2 separate regions of the Homo sapiens genome follow, and region 2 is linked to region 1. Evidence: promoter capture Hi-C in 16 types of primary human blood cells and fetal thymus (Javierre and others, 2016). All regions are on one chromosome and are shown on one strand. The core of a region is centred on a gene start or on the middle of the fragment in contact, and the rest is flanking DNA. Distances in the headings are between cores, read along the strand shown. Region 1 holds the start of SLC37A4 (solute carrier family 37 member 4). Region 2 holds the start of HINFP (histone H4 transcription factor).

What was found. The method cuts DNA at HindIII sites, captures the fragments that hold promoters and counts their contacts. A CHiCAGO score of 5 or more calls a contact.
Region 2: the fragment with the promoter of HINFP here is called in contact with the fragment with the promoter of SLC37A4 in region 1 in 1 of 17 cell types (total CD8 T cells); the score reaches 5.1 in total CD8 T cells.

The regions. Positions count from the first base shown.
Region 1 is chr11:119,029,627-119,037,310 of GRCh38, forward strand. It overlaps SLC37A4 (solute carrier family 37 member 4), which reads right to left and starts at 1,251. Exons shown (of 10, transcript NM_001467.6): 1 at 1,223-1,251. RefSeq lists silencers at 706-865, 6,371-6,525. The HindIII fragment of the contact is 18,338 bases long and covers 1-7,684 here.
Region 2 is chr11:119,115,893-119,123,576 of GRCh38, forward strand. It overlaps HINFP (histone H4 transcription factor), which reads left to right and starts at 5,688. Exons shown (of 10, transcript NM_198971.3): 1 at 5,688-5,747. C2CD2L (C2CD2 like) reads left to right here. Exons shown (of 14, transcript NM_001290474.2): 14 at 153-2,652. The coding sequence ends at 364. RefSeq lists a silencer at 5,422-5,701. The HindIII fragment of the contact is 5,005 bases long and covers 1,516-6,520 here.

The DNA.
Region 1 (7,684 bases), core at 1-2,500:
CGGAAGGAGGCATGCCTGTGAGCCAGGCCAGCACCCTGTGTCCCCAGGATTTCTGCCTTTACCTCCTCTATCATGTCTGCTTGCCTGTGAAACCAGCTTTGATTAAAGGTTCAACCTAATTACTTTTGTCTGCCTGAGCCCAGGGGAGGCAGGGGTGGGATGAGCAGAGATGCCCTCTCTAGCCCTGCTCCCTCAGTCACAGAACCTTCTCATTCATTCACGGAAGGTTTATTAACTTACTAGTTGACAGGCACTGCACTTGGCACTATTAGTTTCTACACCCACTCACCACCACCGCACCAAAACACAAAGTCAGACACATACCCCGGCTACCCCACTTCTAAGCCTTCTAGAGAGGGCCTCAATCCGTGGAACTCTCAATACTTAGCACATAATAGATTTAATTGTTTCCTACAGTTGCCCCTTGTAATTCTGTGCAAGGGGGACCTCCCCAGTTCAGGTCCCACGGTGTCACACAGAAAGCCCCGCTAAGGGCTGAGGTCCTGATGGGGCCCCACAGAGCTACCTCTGGGTCCCCATTACCCTGCGACGTCAGTCTGGGCTTCCTTCGGGCTAGCTGGGGGCTGCAGGGTCTGGTTTCCAACCTGTGGGACGTTGGCAGGGGCCGCAAGCAGAGGGACTGGGCAGCTCGTGGGCGGGAAGGTGCCCCGGCGGGCTTCGGGCTGCAGGGCACAACCGTCCCGCCCAGGGCCCCGGCAACATGCCCCGGCTTTTCCGCTCAATTGGGAAAGCAACTGGAGCAGAAGGCGTAGGCGCACGCGGAGCGGGCGACCGCACGTATTCTCCCGGAGGCCCCGCGCTTCTGGCACCCAGAGGCTCAGCCTGGTAGGGGAGGGCCAGGCGGCGGGCGGGAGAGGAGGAGAGGCGGCGGGCGGCGAAGAGGCGGCGGGCTCGTGGCACCTGCCCAGCCCCGTGGGTCCTCACGCTACCCAGGACACGCTACTGTGCGGCTGGGAACCACGGGGGCCGGGGGTGCAGGAGCTGGAGAGGTGCGGAGACCACAGGACTGGCGCGATAGAAAGGGGTCTCGTGCTGGTGGTCAGGGACAGCGCCTCGGTGGCCCCAAGACCCATGAATTGTCTCTGGAACTGCAGGAACAGCTCCGGGTCGTATCGGAAGTTGGGGTTCGCCAACAATGGCTCCCCAAGACCTGAGATCCCCGCCCTCAGGTGACTCCCCTCCCCCGCATACCGCCTCCTACCTGAACAGAGGCGGGAGCCCGAATAGGACGGGGCGGGGCTAGCGAAGGCTGCGCAAGCGCGGCCGGCGGGGGCGTGGTCTTCGCCTGCTGCTTCGCTTGCCGGCCAGTGGAGTTCCCCGCCCCACATGCCGGGGACGTCGACTTACTCCCTCCCGCTGGTCACGCTGCTCCTTGGACGAACGAGCATAGCGCCCCTTAGGGGCTGGGCACGGCATGTCCAATTCTTAAGTGGTTGCATTCAACAAACCAGTTTTTAGTGAGTGCCCTCCTCTACAAAACACACCGAACACTAAGGTGATAATCATTGTTCCCAAGTTGCTCACAGTCTGGGAAAGGTGTTGTAGGAACACACAGTATTTTCTTTTTTTCTTTTTTTTTTTTTTTGAAACAGTCTCGCTCAGTCGCCCAGGCTGGAGTGCAGTGGCGCGATTTCGGCTCACTGCAAGCTCCTCCTCCCGGGTTCACACCATTCTCCTGCCTCAGCCTCCCGAGTAGCTGGGACTACGGGCGCCCACCACCACGCCCGGGTAATTTTTTGTATTTTTAGTAGAGACGGGGTTTCACCGTGTTTGCCAGGATGGTCTCGATCTCCTGACCTCGTGATCCGCTCACCTCGGCCTCCCAAAGTGCTGGGATTACAGGCGTGAGCCACCGCGCCCAGCCCACAATTTGGAATTTTAACTTGTGGTTAGATTGTTGGGGACAGAGACGGGGCCTGGAGTAAATATCAAATTCTAGTCCTAGACCCACAGCATTCTAACTGTATGACCTTGGTTAATCTCTATGAGCTCCCGTTTCCTACCAGCCTGGTAGATCATTGTGAAGACTCAACAGATGATTTAGATAAGAGCTCAGAAATTCTATAAGAGTTCTCAACAACAATGGTTTTCACTGATCCCAGTTAAGAGTTGTGAGGAGTAACAGTAGTGATGCTATTTTACAACAATGATGACTGTGTTCTCAGAAACAGAGCAAATGTTAACCCTGCCCATAGCTTCAACAGAAGGTAACATAGCCTAACAAAGTCCCCAACAGTCCCAATCAGCCAGCACTTCCCGACCTCTCCCCAATAGAAACGATATTATAAAAGCCTCAGCTTGTAAGCGATCAGGGTCTCAGCCAGACTCCTGACTGGAACTCCTTGCAGGCTTATTCCTGTGAATAAACCTGTTTGGCCGTTGAGTTGCCTCCTGTCTCTCGCTCTCTTCCCTTATATCTTCCTAACAAGAGTGGCTGAAGGAATTGTAAGTGTTCCAAAATTGAGAGCAAAGATCTTTTACTCCAGAGAAGATGGTCAGGGAAGGGAGGAGGAGGAGATGAGATAAAATAGGATGACAGGCCGGACGCGATGGCTCATGCTTGTAATCCCAGCACATTGGGAGGCCAAGGCGGGCAGATCACTTGAAGTCAGGAGTTCGAGACCAGCCTGGCCAACATGGTGAAACCCTGTCTCTACTAAAAATACCAAAATTAGCCAGGCTTGGTGGCACACGCCTGTAATCCCAGTTACTGGGGAGGCTGAGGCAGGAGAATTTCTTGGACCTGGGAAGCAGAGGTTGCAGTGAGCCGAGATCGTGCCACTGCACTCCAGCCTGGGTGACAGAGCGAGAGCCTGTCTCAAAAAAAAAAAAAAAAAAATAGGATGACGATGTCACTGAACTTCGTTAATTCAAAATCGGGGAGGAGCCTAGTTTGTACCAGGCACTGTGCTTTCAGCCAGGTAGATCCAAGGACCAGGAAACAGTTCCTCCGAAACCAAACCAGAGCAGATTCTTACTTTACCTAATAGAGGAGTAGGAAGCCATCAGGTTTTTCTCCGCTTTTATTTTTAAGATTTAACATACACATAATAAAATACAAAAAGTGCAGGAATCTTACATGTACAACTCAGTGATTTTTTACACATGTTAATACCCGTGTAACCACCACCTAAATTAACAGCCCTATCGTTTTGTTTTGGAAGTGGAGTGATCTCAGCTCACTGCAACCTCCTTCTCTGGGGTTCAAGCGATTCTCCTGCCTCAGCCTCCCGAGTAGCTGGGATTACAGGCATGCCCCACCATGCCCAGCTAATTTTGTAATTTTAGTAGGGGTAGGGTTTCTCCATGTTGGTCAGGCTGGTCTCAAACTCCTGACTTCAGGTGATCTGCCCCCCTTGGCCTCCCAAAGTGCTGGGATTACAGGCATGAACAACTGCACCCAGCCAACCCGGTTAATTTTTCTATTTTTTGTAGAGACAAGAGTTTCACCATATTGGCCAGGCTGGCCTCGAAATCCTGAGCTCAAGGGATCCACCTGCCTTGGTCTTCCAATATCCTGGAATTACAGGCATGAGCCACTGTGCCTGGTCGATGGTGTTTATTTGTTTGTTTGTTTGTTTTTGAGACAGAGTCTTGCTCTGTCGGCCAGGCTGAAGTGCAGTGGCAGGATCTCGGCTCACTGCAACCTCTGCCTCCTGGGCTCAAGCCATTCTCCTGCCTGAGCCTCCTGAGTAGCTGGGATTACAAGCATGTGCCACCACGCCCAGCTAATTTTTGTATTTTTAGTAGAGACAGGGTTTCACCCTATTGGCCAGGCTGGTCTCGAACTCCTGACCTCAGGTAATCCGCCCACCTCGGTCTCCCAAAGTGCTAGGATTACAGGCGTGAGCCACTGCGCCCGGTCTGTTTTTTTTGTTTGTTTGTTTGTTTGTTTGTTTGTTTTTGAGACAGGCTTGCTCTGTTGCCCAGGCTGGAGTGCAATGGTATCTTAGCTCACTCTAACCTCAAATTCCTGAGCATTGAGCGATCCTCCCAAGTAGCTAAGACTACAGGACCAGGCCACCTGGGTTCAAGCGATTCTTCTGCCTCAGCTTCCTGAGTAGTTGGTATTATAGGTGCCCGCAAACACGCCTGGCTAATTTTTGTATTTTTAGTACAGACAGGGTTTCTTTCTTTCTTTTTTTCTTTTTCTTTCTTTTTTTTTTTTTTTTTTTTGAGACAGAGTCTCGCTCTCTCGCCCAGGCTGGAGTGCAGTGGCACCATCTGGGCTCACTGCAAGCTCCGCCTCCCAGGTTCATGCCATTCTCCTGCCTCAGCCTCCCGAGTAGCTGGGACTACAGACACCCGCCACCACGGTCAGCTAATTTTTTGTATTTTTAGTAGAGACGGGGTTTCACTGTGTTAGCCAGGATGGTCTCGATCCTGACCTCGTGATCCACCCGCCTCGGCCTCCCAAAGTGCTAGATTACAAGCGTGAGCCACCGCACCCGGCGTACAGAGGGGGTTTCGCCATGTTGGCCAGGCTAGTCTCAAACTCCTGAGTTTAGGTTATCCACCTGCCTCAGGCTCCCAAAGTGCGGCGATTACAAGCATGATCCATCGCACCCAGTCAGTGGGAATTAAATGGAAAAACATTTTAAAGCACTTTATGATCAGGATAGTAGGGACTCAAATGCTAGTTTGCTCACTGTATTTCCAAAGAATGTTAAGAAATGAGAAGATAGGCCGGGCATGGTGGCTTACTCCCGTAATCCCAGCACTTTGCGAGGCTGAGGCGCGCGGATCATGAGGTCAGGAGTTCGAGACCAGCCTGACCAACATGGTGAAACCCTGTCTCTACTAAAAATACAAAAATTAGCCGGGTGTGGTGGTGTACACCTGTAATCCCAGCTAATCAGGAGGCTGAGGCAGGAGAATCACTTGAACCTGGGAGGCAGAAGTTGCAGTGAGCTGAGATGGCGCCATTGCACTCCAGCCTAGGTGACAGAGTGAGACTCCGTCTCAAAAAAAAAAAAAAAGAAAGAAAGAAAGAAAAGAAAAAGAAATGAGAAGATGACATCCCAATACAGTACAAAGACTTTACTAAGGGATAATAAAAGGTAATTTGAACAAACGTAAATCATACTACATGCCTGAAAAACAAGCTATGACTTTGATACTGTCCAAATGTCAATCCATTCAAAATTCATTTGGCATTTTAAAACCATCCCAATCTATATCCCAACAGAATTTGTTGGAAACTGGACAAAGTTTTTATTTTTTTTTCAGAAGCCATAGAAATGAATGGACAACATTATTTTAAATATCATCCGAGGTTGGGCCCAGTGGCTCATGCTTACAATCCCAACACTTTGGAAGGATGGCTTGAGGTCAGGAGTTTGAGACCAGCCTGGGCAACGTAGTGAGACCCCATTGCTACAAAAAATTTAGAAATTAGCCAGGTGTGGTGGCATGTGCCTCTAGTCCTATCTACTCAGGGGCTTAGACGGGAAGAGACCTTGAGCCTAGGAGTTCAAGGCCTCAGTGAGCTATGATTGTAGCACTGCACTCCAGCCTAGGCTACAAGAAAGACCTTGTTTCAAAAAAATTTTTTATCTCATGTATGATTTTAACTATGATAAAAGGGACATCCTGCACAGGTGCAGTGGCTTATGCTGTAATTCAACCACTTTGGAAGGCTGAGGTGAGAGGGTTGATTGAGTCCAGGAGTTCAAGACCAGCCTGGGCAACATAGGGAGAACCCCCCGCCATCTCTACAAAAATATAAAAAATTAGCCAGGGTCGGGTGCAGTGGCTCATGCCTGTAATGCCAGCACTTTGGAAGGCTGAGGCAGGCAGATCACCTGAGGTCAGGAGTTCGAGACCAGCCTGGCCAACATGATGAAACCCAGTCTCTACTAAAAATACCAAAATTAGCTGGGCGTGGTGGCATGTGCCTTTAATCCCAGATACTCCTGAGGCTGAGGCAGGAGAATCGAATGAACCCGGGAGGCGGAGGTTGCAGTGAGCCAAGATCGCGCCACTGCACTCCAGCCTGGGCCACAGAGCGAGACTCCATCTCAAAATAATAAATAAATAAATAAAAGTAAAAATTAGCCAGGTGTGGTGGCATGTACCTGTGGTCCCAGCTAATTGGGAGACTGAGGTGGCAGGATTGCTTGAGGCAGGAAGGTCAAGGCTGCAGTAAGCTATGATCGCACTACTGTACTCTAGCCTGGGTGAAAGCAAGACCGTGTTTCAAAAGAAAAATTTTTTTTAATTAAAAAAAATGACACTCCTGGACGGGTGCAGTGGCTCACGCTTATAATCCCAGCACTTTGGGAGGCCGAGGTGGGTGGATCACGAGGTCAGGAGTTCCAGACCAGCCTGGCCAACATGGTGAAACCCCGTCTACTAAAAATACAAAAATTAGCCAGGCGTGGAGGCGTGCACCTGTAATCACAGCTATTCAGGAGGCTGAGGGAGGAGAATCGCTTGAACCTGAAAGGCAGAGGTTGCAGTGAGCCAAGATGGCACCATTGCACTCCAGCCTGGGCAACAGGGTGAGACTCAGTCTCAAAAAAAAAAACACAAAAATTAGGCGGGCATGGTGGCACACACCTGTAATTCCAGCTACTAGGGAGGCTGAGGCAGGAGAATCACTTGAACCAGGGAGGCGGGGGTTGCAGTGAGCTGAGATCATGCCACTGCACTTGAGCCTGGGTGACAGAGCAAGACTCCGTCTCAAAATTTAAAATAAATAAATAATTTTTTTTTTAATTAACCAGGCATGGTGGCTCATGCTGATAGTCCCAGCTACTCAGGAGGCTGAGGTGGGAGGATTGCTTAAGTCTGGGTGGTCAAGGTTGCACTGAGCAGTGATTGTGCTACTGCACTCCTGCCTGGGCAACCGAGTGAGACCTTGTCTCCAAAAAAGTAAAAAAAAAAAAAAAAAAAAAGGAAGCCATCCCAAATCAATAGAGTGGAGTGGATTAACTAATAAATAATGCCAGGCACAGTGGCTCATGCCTGTAATTGAAACACTTTGGAAGGCCAAGGCAGGAGAATTGCTTGAGCCGAAAAGGTTGAGGCTGCAATGAGCTGTGATCACGCCACTGCACTCCCTCCTGGGTGACAGAGTGAGACCCTGCCTCAAAATAAATAAATAATAAATAGATAAATGAATAAATTGTTCTAGGTATTTAGAAAAAATCAACTTAGATCTCTATTGCACACTCCACACAAAATAAATCCCAGATAGATTTAAAAATGCCATTTAAGACCTGGCACAGTGGTTCACGCCTGTAATTCCAGCACTTTGGGAGGCTGAGGAGGGCAGATCACCTGAGGTCAGGAGTTCAAGACCAGCCTGACCAACATGGTGAAACTCTGTCTCTACTAAAATTACAAAAATTAGTTGAGCGTGATGGCACATGCCTGTAGTCCTAGCTACTTAGGAGGCTGAGGCAGGGGAATCACTCAAACTCAGGAGGTGGAAGTTGCAGTGAGCTGAGATTGCACCACTGCACTCCAGCCTGGGCGACAGAGAGAGACTCCGTCTCAAAAAAATAAATAAATAAATAAAGAGGCTGGGCGTAGTGGCTCACGCCTGTAATCCCAGCACTTTGGGAGGCCAAGGCAGGCAGATCACCTGACGTCAGGAGTTTGAGATCAGCCCAGCCAACACGGTGAAACCTCATTTCTACTAAAAATACAAAAATTA
Region 2 (7,684 bases), core at 4,438-6,937, 91 kb after region 1:
TTTCTGCTTTCTTTCCTGAGGAAGCCTGGCTTCTGGGCCACGGGACTGATCCTGTCCACATCCTCTTTCCCTCCATTCTCCATCGTGTCTCTGCCCCCGTCTCACCCCACCCCGTGCCCCTCTCTGCCTCAGCTTCCCCTCTTCCCCTGCAGTGAGTTTCCTGCGCAGCGGCACTAAGCTCATCTTCCGCCGGAGGCCTAGGCAGAAGGAAGCTGGCCTGAGCCAATCACACGATGACCTCTCCAACGCAACGGCCACGCCCAGTGTCCGAAAGAAGGCCGGCAGCTTTTCTCGCCGCCTTATCAAGCGCTTTTCCTTCAAATCCAAACCCAAGGCCAATGGTAACCCCAGCCCCCAGCTCTGAGGACCCAGCTCTGAAAGGGCACGAGTTCTCTCAGCCCATTCCCCACCTCCCCTTCCATACCCCTTCCTGGATCTCCAGTGCCTGGGCCAGGAAAGCCCTCTGGGTTCCGGGAAGCCCCGTCCACCCTGGGCCATGGGGCCGGTTGGAAGGATACTTGGAACGGGAAGCACATGAGAGGTGGGCACCCGGTGCCGAGGACATGGACGAGGGACTGGTGGCTGGGAGGGAGAGGAGGGCCCTGTCCGGCATGTGTGGGTATTCCCCAGAAGCATTTGCCTCCTGCTGAGCCTGGTCCCTGAGCGGAGTCCCAGGGTGCTCAGCTCTTCAGCTGACCCTTCTTCCCTTATTTATTCTCTTTTCTATTTATATGTGTGGCTTAGGACCCTCCGTGAACAGATGATAGAGGGCATCTCTCCCAGGTGACCCTTCTTTTCTGTCCCAGGAGGGTGGGTAATTCCCTTTGGGATGGGGCTCCCACACCTCCCTCAGGTCCCCACTCAGACCAGCACCAGTGTCTGCCTCTGAGAATGTTGGCAGCTCACAGAGAGCAGGGCCGGCCCGGGATGGGGGGCAGGTACTCCCCACCTTCCTGCCTCCCCTCCTGCTCCTCATCCCTCCCTCCCCCTTTATTACCGTTTTTTGTACTTGATGCCTTCTCTGTGAGCAGTGGCTCTGTGGGAAGGAGGGAGCCGGGAGCCTGGTGGGAAGCCTTCCCCAGAGAGATGGCTTTAGGGGCTTTATTTAAAGACTGTGATGATGGAGCCACGCAAGGCTGCACCTCTGTGTGTTGGGAGACGATGATGATGTCCATTGCTGTGTGATGGCTTGGAATTTAATTTATTAAAGTCAAATTGGAGTTTATAAACTGGACAACTGGTTATCCTTTGAAAGGCAGTAGGCAGCCAGGCTGTGACATGGATGGTGTGGGAGGATGAGACAGGGGCCCGGATAATGAGGTTGGGTAGATGACACACATTGTGGATCTGCTAAGAAGTTCCTGCAGGGAAGAAGGGGTGTGCAGAGAAAGGATGGAAGAGACAGGAGGCTCTGGAGTATGAAATTGTAGCAAAAAACTCAATCAACTAGTACAGGTTAGTCTTCATTCCCCTTTCTGGAACAGGCTGCTCCTTCTAGGATGTAATGGAGATCAAAGCTTGGACCCTGTAACTAGACTGCCTGCCTGGGTTTGAGTCCCAGCTCTTCTAATTACTTGTGTGACCTTGGGCAAGTTATGTAACCTCTAAGTGCCTCAGTTTTCTCATCTGTAAAATGGGAACTTCAATCATCATGGCTATCATTTGGTTGTGGATGAGAAGTAAATGAAGTGCTGAGTGTTAACTGTTGCCTCAGAAGAAACTGGGAGGGGGAAGTCTTAGAAGTGTTTCAACATAATAAAAGCTCTCTCATTCTGAAATGTGGGCAAATTTCAGGGATTGATAGATCCTAGCAAACTGTGTCCCTGGTTCCCGTGCTTGAGATCTTATACAGGACTTGAACCAGGTAAGCTGCTACAGGATATTGGGCAGAATGCAGGACCAGGAAGCAAGAAAACTGAGTCTGCCACAGACAAACCAAGTGATCTTGAGCAGGCAACTTCTCCTTTGGGGACCTCAGTTTCCTCATATCTAAAATAAGGGTGACCTGGATAAACATTCAGGTCACTTCCAGCCTTGACATTCTATGACTACCTATATCTCAGGGTGTTTAGGGCACATGCCTTTGGGTAGATAGCATGTGGAAATTGTTACTATTCCCCATGCTCCTGTCCACACTACTCACCAAATATGAGATATCCGGGAAGAATGGAGGGTATAGATTTTTTTTTTCAATTAGATAATTTAGTTTTATATATTTGGGGGGACAAGTGCAGGTTTCTTACATGCATATATTGCATGCATAGAGGTGAAGTCTGGGCTTTTTTTAGTGTGCGCATCGCCCAAATAGTGAACATCATACCCAATAGGTAGTTTTTCAACCCTCACCCTCCTCCCACCTTCTCACCTTTCATAGTCTCCGATGTCTTTTATTCCACTCTATATGTCCATGTATACCCATTATTTAGCTCCCACTTATAAATGAGAATATGCCATATTTGACTTTGTTTCTGAGTTATTTCACCGAGGATAATGGCCTCCAGTTCCACCCATGTTGCTGGAAAACACATGATTTCATTCTTTTTTATGGCTGAGTAGTATTCCACTGTGTGTGTGTGTGTTGGGCGATGATAATGATGTCCATTGCTGTGTGACAGCTTGGAATTTAATTTATTAAAGTCAAGTTGGAGTTTATAAACTGCATTTTCTTTATCACTCACTACATTAACTACGTTTTCTTTATCCAATCCTCCATTGATGGACACATCGATTTGGTTGATTTTTATGTAGTGAAATGTTCAATTCTAAGTCATGAAAATTCAAAGAGATTTTTCAAGCTGTTTCCCCAGTCTAAGAAATGTAACTCTTAGTGGTTCACAGAGGAACAGTTTTTCTACCAGTATGACACGACAACCAAACACAGTGAACTTGTGATTGCACAAGAAACTTTTGTTGATGGGAGAACAGGTATTCAGAGTTCTACAGGACCTGGGGAATGAGTAGATGGTAACTGGAATCTGTATTGAGCTTCCAGTACTGAGCTGCCCAGAGTTCCATGGAATCACATATTTTAGTGAAGAAGAGCCTGATCACGTTTCAAAAATAGGGAATTTTTAAATGAATGAAAAAAATACGAAACATATTTTCATCAACTTAATCCATTTCACACTTTCAGAAGGGATCCACAGCTTTTAATGAGTATGAATTATGCTTTCAGTTTTTGTGGCAGCTTTTAAAGAACAAATCTCAGGATATGTCTGAATTACCCAGCCAAAATTGTGGCTTGTTTTCAAGAGAAGCAGATTGAGATAGAAGTAAACTATGCTAGACAGAATGACACTGCTTTAAATTTTGGAAACATATATATGGATCCCAGAGCAATCCTGAAATTTTTGCTCTGTAACCTATGTTTGAGTTTACACAGCTCTGTGAATGAACTTTTTCTTCATAAAATTGCTAAATAAAGCTAAAAGCTATTTTCAGTGGTGTAAATCTGAATTAAAATGAGGATGGCATTTCATGAAGTACTACTATATGCATTTTTGAATGAATAAAGTTGGTAAGATATATTTTGTTACTTTTGAATTACATTTTTTAAAACGCTTTTTTTTTTTTTTTGAGACAGAGTCTCTCTCTGTTGCCCGGGCTGGAGTGCAGTGGAGTGATCTTGGCTCACTGCAACCTCTGCCTCTCAGGTTCAAGCGATTTTCCTGCCTCAGCCTCCTGAGTAGCTGGCACTACAGGCACCCACCACCACACCTGGCTAATTTTTGTATTTTTTGTAGAGATGGGGTTTCGCCATGTTGGCCAGGCTGGTTTCGAATTCCTGACCTCATGATCCGCCCGCCTCGGCCTCCCAAAGTGCTGGGATTACAGGCATGAGCCACCGCGCCCTGCAAAACCCTATTTTAAAATAGGGACCAAGTTATAACTCACTGTTGTTAAAACCAAAATTTATGCACAAGTATGACTTTACTATCTTAATGGCATTTTAAATTTTATTTTATATATATTGAACATTTAATGTGTTTTCTGATTGTACAAATTATATAGGTTTATTTTTAGATTAGAAGATACAGAAAACTACAATGCAATAAAATATCAGTCTTAACCAACTTTATTAAGGTATATTATTTAACAAGTATGTCTTGAACCCTTACTGAGTTTCAGCCACTGGGCTAAGTGAGTGATGGGTTTTTTGTTTTATTTTGTTTTTTGTTTTGTTTTGAGACAGAGTCTTGCTCTGTTGCCCAGGCTGGTGTGCAGTGGTGCCATCTCAGCTCACTGCAACCTGTGCCTCCTGGGTTCAAGCGATTCTCCTGCCTCAGCCTCCCGAGTAGCTGAGATTATAGGCGCCCGCCACGATGCCCAGCTAGTTTTTGTATTTTTAGTAGAGACGGGGTTTCCCCATGTTGGCCAGGCTGGTCTTGAGCTCCTGACCTCATGTGATCCACTCGCCTCGGCCTCCCAAAGTGCTGGGATCACAGGCGTGAGCCACGACACCCGGCCCACTGATGGAGTTATAAAGGTGAAGAACTAGTCTAGTGAAGAATGCAGACTGAGAGTAAACAGACAAATACAATGTGACTGAGCTGTATTGTTAAATACAAGAAAGGACTATCAGGAAGACTTTTTGGAAAAAGAAGCATCTACACTGAGACCATAAAAATTAGTAGGAGTCAGTCAAATAAATGTGGGAGGAGGAGAAAGGGATTATTCCAGGTAAAGAAAACAAGTTCAAGGCTTGAGAGGTAAAAGGTGGCTTGGTGTGGTGGAAAAGGTGAAAGAAATTTGCGACTGGAGAGCAAGAAATATGGTCGAGAAGGACTAAAAAAAAGTAGACAGGGAGAGCCCAGATGCTGAAGGGTCTAGAAAACCTCAGTATGGTTTTGGAGCTTTGCCCTGAAAGCAATAGAATGCCTTTGAATTGTCTGAAGCAGATGGTAACTTGATCAGGTCTGCTTTTTGCAAAGTGGAGAATGCTTTGGAAGGAAGCAAGTGTGCACGCAGCGGGACCCATTAGACTAATGTATAAATCCTGCCTGGAGGTCATCACTGGACAGGGGAGGTGGGGGAGGCGGTGAAGATAAACAAAAGGGGATAAATTTGAAATATCCTGTTTTAAAAGGAGGTAGAATCCACAGAACTTGGCAATGGATTGGATGTGAGAAGTGAGAGGAATCAGTGATGACTGCCAGCTTTCTGACCTGAACGAGTGGATGAAGGGAAGCCGAGTTTTGGGGGGAAAGAGAAACATATAATACCAACATTTAAAACATAATAAGACTAAGAGGCTGAAGGAAAGGGTAGAACCTTCAATCTGAGCCGAGCGGGGCCGACAGCGCTGGGCAGCATCCCACGCCTTTTTCTCCGCGAGGCCCACGCAACCAGCCAACTAAAGCGAAGAACCACGTGAGGGAGACCCCACTGCGCACCAGGCGCGAGCCCTGCGCATGCCCGTTGGGTCCCGGAGGCCGAGCCTGCGCAGTTAGGGGAACTCAGGCCCATAGGCTCCCCGCCTTTGCGTTGCCCTGAGCAGCGAGGCGCGGTCACGTGCTACCTTTTGCACGTATCCTGTCGCCCCTCTGTCCGCCCGGGACGCCTAGCCCCACCCACTGTTCCCGCCCCTTCCGTGTTTTGGTGCGCACGGGTTCCGCCAGACACAGCTACCATTGGCTGTCAGTCGGATCCGAGAACGACGATTGGCTTTCCTTGACCGTCCCTCAAGCGCCTCTCCGGAGATGGTCTGAGGTGGGAGAAGAGCTGAAGAGACCTGGAGCCGACAGACGGTAAGCTGGGGTATGTGCTCTGCAGGGGCTGCAGGAGGCCAAGCTCTTCCCGAGCCACCTCGGCGAGTATTCTTGCCGCTTGGCCACGCTGGTCTGCCCTGGTCCGGTCCCCTCACCCCGACTGGAACCTCCCTGCTTTCTAGTCTAGGGGCTTCGCTGCGGCTGAGACTCGGTCGCCGCCACGCCTTAGCGTGAAGGATTCCGGGAAGCCTGCGGGACTGCGAGTGGAGAGGTTTTGCCCAACGGGACGGTCTCCTTCCTTCTGTCCAAATTCTACCTGTCCTTCGAGGCGTGGTGCGGGCCCCACTGCTTAGGGGAGACTTCCTTTTCGCCTGACCGCGGAGGTGTCTCTCTGTCCTGGTCTCCCTCATCGGGTACTTTGTTTCGGTCGTTGTCTTCACGTATCAGTCTTATCTTTTTGGCCAAATTATGAGTTCTTAGGCGTTTAGGACCCTTTTTTTCTTGAATACCACAGTTCATTCATTGTCTTGCGTTACAGTATATGCCCTCTTAAGTGTTAAGAGGGTAGAGTGAAGATCATGCCCCTATCTCCTCAGAGTAGAAACAAGAGACACAGAAAGAGAAATTAAAGAAGACAGGAGGACAGTCAGAGAGCGTCAGGGAGTTTTGCCTAGGTTTCAGATCATTCTGTATCGCCAGCTAGCTTGCCTCCTTGGACTTACCCACCAGTCTAACAGCAGGTGTATGTTTAGAATATTTGTGCTCGGCACAGTGTAGGGACACGGGCAGGTGTGATATGGTTTCTGCTCAGAAGCTTCTTATAGTCCAATTGGGTAAACGAGACTAGAACACATAAAACGACCATGGCAACATGAAAATAGGGTTGAAGTTTTATGGTGTCAGCTGTGCCAGCCATAGAACTAAGGAGCAAGAGTAGATTCAGGGATGGGGTAGTTTAGGAAGGCTTCCCGGAATGTGATTATCTCCTGATATTTATTGAGTACCTGGGGTGTGCAAAGCTCTGTGCTGAATCTGAGAATGAGAAGTGAATAAGTGATGGCCACTGTCCTGAGAAACTCCTAGTCTAGGGGAAACAAGTTTCATTGCATTGATAGCAAAGATGTGTGTGGATGCCGTGGGCAAGAGATGGGATATGCCAGCTGTACCTGGATGAATTGGGAAGGGGGTCATCAAAGAGAAGACTTTGGGGTTTGAAAGGCGAATAGAAGTTGCATAGGTAGGCCTGTCGCGGTGGCTCACACCTGTAATCCCAGCACTTTGTGAGGCCGAGGCGGGCGGATCACTTGAGGTCAGGAGTTTGGGACCAGCCTGACCAACATGGCAAGACCTCGTCTCTACTAATACTACAAAAATTAGCTGGGCGTGGTGGTGCGTGCTTATAGTCCCAGCTATAATACTTCGGAGGCTAAGTCACGAGAATCGCTTGAACCTGGGAGGCGGAGGTTGCAGTGAGCCCAGATCACAGCACTGCACTCCAGCCTGGGCGACAGAGCAAGACTCCATCTCCAAAAAAAAAAAAAAAAAAAAAAAGAACTTGCGTAGGCAGAGAGTTTTAGGAGAATGTAGAGTATTCAGAGACAAAGATGATTGAATCAGAGGAAGAGGGAATGAAGTATGGGTGAGGAAGCCAGAGAACAGCATCATGTGGGAGAAAGAGCATGATCTTTGGATTGGAATGAGGGTGCTCTTACATCAGATGAAGTGTAGAGAGGACTCACCACAGGGCTGACACACTGTAGCTTCTCAATAGATGTTCGTTTCCCTACCTAGAACTGGAGAAGTAAAATTGAGACCACTTTGAGAAGAGCCTTGCATTTCATACTGTAATAGTCAGAGGAGGTGTGGGATTTTATGACTTTTGAAGCTTTTTTCTACTTTTCTTACCACAACATTATAAAAGCAGTCAATATTCAATATTTCTTTCTTCTTTTTTTTTTTTTTGACAGGGTCTGGGT